2 separate regions of the Homo sapiens genome follow, and region 2 is linked to region 1. The links are contacts of gene promoters, found by promoter capture Hi-C in blood cells and fetal thymus (Javierre and others, 2016). All regions are on one chromosome and are shown on one strand. The core of a region is centred on a gene start or on the middle of the fragment in contact, and the rest is flanking DNA. Distances in the headings are between cores, read along the strand shown. Region 1 holds the start of KCNJ11 (potassium inwardly rectifying channel subfamily J member 11). Region 2 has its middle 11 kb from the start of PIK3C2A.

Region 1 (2,861 bases), core at 1-2,500:
CCCTCGGGGCTGGTGGTCTTGCGTACCACCTGCATGTGGATGGTGGCGCTGATGATCATGCTCTTGCGGAGGTCACCCACACGTAGCATGAAGCAGAGGCGGCCGTGGCGCAGGGCGATCACCGCATGCTTGCTGAAGATGAGGGTCTCAGCCCTGCGGTGGGCTTGGGCAGTCTTCATGAAGATGCAGCCAAGCATGATGGCGTTGATCATGAGCCCCACGATGTTCTGCACGATGAGGATCAGGATGGCCAGTGGGCACTCCTCAGTCACCATGCGCCCCCCAAAGCCAATAGTCACTTGGACCTCAATGGAGAAAAGGAAGGCAGACGAGAAGGAGTGGATGCTGGTGACACAGGGCTCAGCAGTGCCCTCGCTGGGGGCCAGGTCACCGTGGGCGAAGGCGATGAGCCACCAGGCCATGGCGAAGAGCAGCCAGCTGCACAGGAAGGACATGGTGAAGATGAGCAATGTGTGTGGCCACTTGAGGTCCACCAGCGTGGTGAACACGTCCTGCAGGAAGCGGCCCTGCTCCCGGATGTTCTTGTGGGCCACGTTGCAGTTGCCTTTCTTGGACACAAAGCGGGCCCTCCGCTGGCGGGCACGGTACCTGGGCTTGGCAGGGTCCTCTGCCAGGCGTGTCAGCACGTATTCCTCGGGGATGATGCCCTTGCGGGACAGCATGGCTCCGGTGACCCCCAGGGAGGGGCTTCCCCCATCGGAGGCACCCCTCGGACGTGGCCTAGGGCCTCACTGCAGAGTCCTCTCGGTGGGCACCTTCTCACCCTGGGGCTGCACTCAGCCTGTGCTGGCCTCACTTCTGAGATAACTCCCCACCAGACTCTTCCTTACCTCCACCTGGGTCCCACTTCACTTCTTAATACCAGCCTCAGGCCGGGCGCGGTGGCTCACGCCTGTAATCCCAGTACGTTGGGAGGCTGAGGAGGGCAGATCACTAGGTCAGGAGTTCGAGACCAGCCTGACCAACATGGTGAAACCCCATCTCTACTAAAAATACAAAAGTTAGCCGGGCATGGTGGTGCGCACCTGTAATCCCAGCTACTCAGGAAGCTGAGGCAGGAGAATCGCTTGAACCCGAGAGGCGGAGGTTGCAGTGAGCCAAGATCACGCCACTGCACTCCAGCCTGGGCGACAGAGCGAGACTCCGTCTCAAAAACAAAAAACAAAACAAAAAAAACAGCCTCACCCTTGAGCCCACCTGCCTGGCGCCTAGGGAGCCCCCAACCCTGCCGGCTCTCCACCTGGCCCTGCGTCCTCCCCCAGCTTCCCCCACCAGCTGACCACCCCTGGGCCTCCCGCTAAGAGCCCTTCTCCCCGCCCAGCCTGCCTTCCCAGCCCAGCTCAGAACTTAACACCTCCGGATCTCTCCCACTAACCGGACCTCACCCCCACCTCCGGGTCTCCCGCCTCACCTGTCTGGCCTTCGGGCTCCCAGGCTCCAGCTCAGGTCCTGGCCACCCCCGCCCCGTCTCTCCTCCAGGTGCGCCCCCTATGTCCTACTCCACCCCTCCCGGAGCGCCCCCGCCGCTTTCCGGATCCCCCTCCAGCTCTCGTCCTCTCTGTCTCCTTGGGATCCTGCGTTCTCTGGAGTCACCACCCCACCCGGCTCAACCGCGGCTCCCCGGACCTGCGCGCGACCCGGCGGGGCTGACTCCGAGTCGCGGCCTCCCGGTCCCTGCCGCCCGCCCGCGCCGCGGCTCCCGCTCCGCGCCGGGTCCCGGCCCCGCCCGCCGCCGCCGCTGCACCTGCTCCTGCTCCTCACGCCACGGCCGTCGCCTCCCCGCCCCCTCCCGCCGCCCGGGCGCTCGCGGCTGGCCGTCCTCCCGTCTGTCTGTCCGTCCGTGGGTCCGCGGAGACCGACCTGGGCTAGGCAGGGGTCTAGGACGGCGGGAGGGGGGCGCACGAGGAGAGGAACGGGGCCGGGGACCGCCAGGGGGAGCCCGACCTGCACCGGAGCGCAGGGGGCGGGGCCGGAGCAAGCCCCCGCCCCTCCCGCGCCCCTCCCCGCCCCCGCCCTCCACCTCCCCTCCCGGGACTCACAACCCGGCCTTTGGAGTTTTTCTGATCCGCGGAACCCAGAGGTTCCTCCTGCCCACGCTCTACGAAAGTGGGGGGCTGGGAGGGATCTGTGACCCGCCCTCCCAGTCTGGGGCCGCCGCCCTGTCGCCCTGGCTCCCCTCCCCCAATATCCCCATCCGTATTTGGGTCAGTAATCCGCCTCTCGGCCGCGCCAGGTTTGCAGGTTCCCCGGGAAAGGAGGCGCTGAGAGGCGGCGCCACCAATCCCAGGGCTGGCGGAAATTAGGCGGTCCGAGGACTTCTCAACCTGCAGCTGCTTCTCTTTGGGGGATGCTCTTAATCTTAGTCTTGAATCCTTTGACAATCTGATGGAAGCTCAGACTCCCTCTCATTAAAAAAAAAAAAAAAAAAAAAAAAAAAAAAGGCCTCGGCAGGAAAGGAGCACAGTTTAACACCTGCTACTGCTGTGGGGCAGCCTGGGCGGCTCCATCTTCTCAGCCATTCCGGCCCTACTTTAAAGAAGGTTTGAGCCGAGGCCACTTGCTTTACACTTTCTCACACCTGTCACCTGACTTCTTCCACGTTAGGTCATGGGTGGTATTTAGGCCTGAACAGTGTGTTAGGGCTGCCTCGGGCACTGGGGGACCCAGGCTCTTGGTCCCGGCATGGTGGTGTTTCTGTTCAGGCATCAGCCTGAGGCTGCCCTGTGGCATGGACCCGGGTTCTCAGCTGGGAGGGAAAGCCTGCTAGATCTCTGTTGTTGGAACAGTAACGGCTTTACCGCTGTCTGTGGCTCAGATCCTTATGGAAGAACCCCTGACCA
Region 2 (2,830 bases), core at 215-2,714, 170 kb before region 1:
CCCAGCTACACAGAAGGCTGAGGAAGGAGGATTCATTGCACTCATGTGTTTGAGGCTGCAGTGAGCTATGATTGGACCACTGCACTCCAGCCTGGGCAACAAAGGGAAACCATGTCTCTTAAAAAAAAGAATAATAATAAAAGGTAAATCAGATCACCTCACCAACTGGTTGAACTCACTAGTAGCTTTCCATTGCACTTAGAATAAACCTTCCCTTTGCTTCCAAAGCCTTACAAACCTGATCCAGTTTACCTCTCCTGTATCGCTCTGCCCCTTGACCACTGTTCCAGCAACAGCAGCCTTCTTTCATTCCTAAACAGCCAAGAATATGCAAGCTCACTCCTGCTCTAATGACTTTGCACTAGCTATTCCCTTGCCTGAAATGCTGTCCCTTTGAGTGTGACTGGCTCCTTTTTGTCCTTCATATCTCTGGTTAAATGTTACCTCCTGAGAATTTCACTGACCACCCAGTCTAAAATACTCACCTCGTCCCTATATATATAGCGTGACTTTATTTTAATGCTCTGTGAAGCACTGACTACCTCCTGATACTTTTCTTATTTATTTATTTTAGGTATTTATTTTCCCACACTAGAATGTAAGCTCAATGACAGCAGGGACTTTGTCTTGTTCACCATTAATTCCTTTGCATCTAGAGCAGTGCTTGGCTCAGAGAGCCTAATAATTGTTAAGTGAATGAATGAAATTACTTCCATTTATATTTAATACCTTTTCCCCTTCAGTTAAAACAACATAGCCAAGACTTTCCTCTTGTATAGAAATTCACATGATTTTTTTTTTTTTTTTGAGACAGAATCTCACTCTGTCACCTAGGCTGGAGTGTAGTGATATGATCACATCTCACTGCAGCCTCAACTTCCTGGGCTCAAGCAATCCTCCCATCTCAGCCTCTTGAGTAGCTGGGACTACGGGTGCACTCCACCACACTGGGCTAATTAAAATAATTTTTTTAGAGACAAGGTCTCACCATATTGCCCAGGTTGGTCTCGAACCTCTGGGCTCAAGCAATCCTCCCCGCTTGGCCTCCCAAAGTGTTGGGATTGGAGGCATGAGCCACTGCACCTGGCCTGAGCATGAATTATGAAAGACTAATATTATTTCAGTGGAAGCCCTGCCTTGTAAACCAGTGGTGAGGAGCATTTGTATTGCACTGAATAATTTTTTAAATTCAGTTGTGAGTTACTATATAAAACCTAAAATTAAGTTAGAAAAATTTCAAAGAACTATCAACTGTTTCTTTGATATGCCTTTAAAAAGGATGGCCATTTTGTGCATCATTAAAGTATGATGTGTAGGCTGTGACTCACAAGAGGAATAGCCAACCTACTCTTTTCTCTCCTCCTCTTCCCCTCCCCAGAATATCATAAAGAAACAGGTGATAGGTACTTGGAAGAGTAGCTAACATTTGCTGAGAGCTTGCTATGTGCTAGATATTTTATTTTATTTTATATTTTATGTTATGTTACTTTATTTTATTTTTATTTTATTTTGAGACAAGGTCTCACTCTGTTCCCCAGGCTAAAGTGCAGTGGCATGATCACAGCTCACTGCAGGCTTGACCTCCCCAGGCTCAAGTGATCCTCCCACCTCAGCCTCCCAAGTATCTGTGACTACAGGTATGCACCAGCACACCCAGCTAATATTTGTATTTTTTGTAGAGACAGAGTTTTGCCATGTTGCCCAGGCTGGTCCTGAACTCCTGGGCTCAAGTGATCCGCCCACCTCAGCCTCCCAAAGTGCTGGGATTATAGGCATGAGCCACTGTGCCCAACCAACATTTAATAAATTAACTCATTTAACCTTCAGAACAACCTTATGAGAGACAATTCTAATTCCCACTTAACAGATATGAGGTACAGAGAGGTTAAGTAACTTGCCTGGGTCACATGGTTAATGAGTGGTAGAGCTGGGCAGGCTGACTCCAATGTCTGAGCTTTTAATCATCTTACCATGCTGCCTTGGGGAATGCATGTCAGTGGGTCTGAATGTTTGTCGCCACTTTAGTCCTTTGGGACTACAAAGGAGAGTAAATAAGGAAAAATACATGGGGGTTTGGAGCTAAGTGTCAAATCCAATCAAGTCCAAATTCCAGAGGTTTTCCTTTTTTATGCCATGGACCGTTTTGGTAGTCAGGGAGTCTATAGACCCCCTACTCAGAATAATGTTTTTACATACAAAGCTAAAATAGAATTGGAAACCTATTATAGTGAAATACAGTTCTCAAAATATTAAATCACCATGTGGGATATAATATACATGCTTTTTGTTGATATATTAAAAAGATCTAATGGCAGTCTAATGACTACCATAATTTCATAGCAGTATGAACACAAATGATATTTCAAGATAGTTTTAACTGCAATAATGTGACATAGAAATATCTGGGATGTGGTCGGGCACAGTGGCTCACACCTGTAATCCCAGCACTTTGGGAGACCGAGGCAGGCAGATCACTTGAGGTCATGAGTTCGAGACCAGCCTAGCCAACATGGTGAAACCCTGTCTCTACCAAAAATATAAAAAATTAGCCAGGTGTGGTGGTGCATGCCTGTAATCCCAGCTACTTGGGAGGCTGAGGCAGGAGAATCGCTTGAACCCAGGACGGGGAGGTTGCAGTGAGCTGAGATCATACCACTGCACTCCAGCCTGGGCCACAGAGCGAGACTCCATTTAAAAAAAAGAAAAATATCTGGGATATCTGTTAGTGACAAAGTCACAGATACAGCTAGTACTGCTATGACTTGTGGCCTACATTAGTAAGGGAAGGAATTGCTAAGTTTCTATTTGAGATTAGTGAAAATAAAGACAT

Evidence for each region. The method cuts DNA at HindIII sites, captures the fragments that hold promoters and counts their contacts. A CHiCAGO score of 5 or more calls a contact.
Region 2: a fragment that was not itself captured here is called in contact with the fragment with the promoter of KCNJ11 in region 1 in 2 of 17 cell types (non-activated CD4 T cells and naive CD8 T cells); the score reaches 5.4 in non-activated CD4 T cells.

The regions. Positions count from the first base shown.
Region 1 is chr11:17,387,409-17,390,269 of GRCh38, forward strand. It overlaps KCNJ11 (potassium inwardly rectifying channel subfamily J member 11), which reads right to left and starts at 1,251. Exons shown (of 1, transcript NM_000525.4): 1 at 1-1,251. The coding sequence starts at 683. RefSeq lists an enhancer at 1-433 and silencers at 1,642-2,151, 2,232-2,331. The HindIII fragment of the contact is 14,360 bases long and covers 1-2,861 here.
Region 2 is chr11:17,217,274-17,220,103 of GRCh38, forward strand. No RefSeq gene overlaps it. Among named protein-coding and RNA genes, the nearest start is that of PIK3C2A, 11 kb to the left of the region's middle. The HindIII fragment of the contact is 6,380 bases long and covers 1-2,830 here.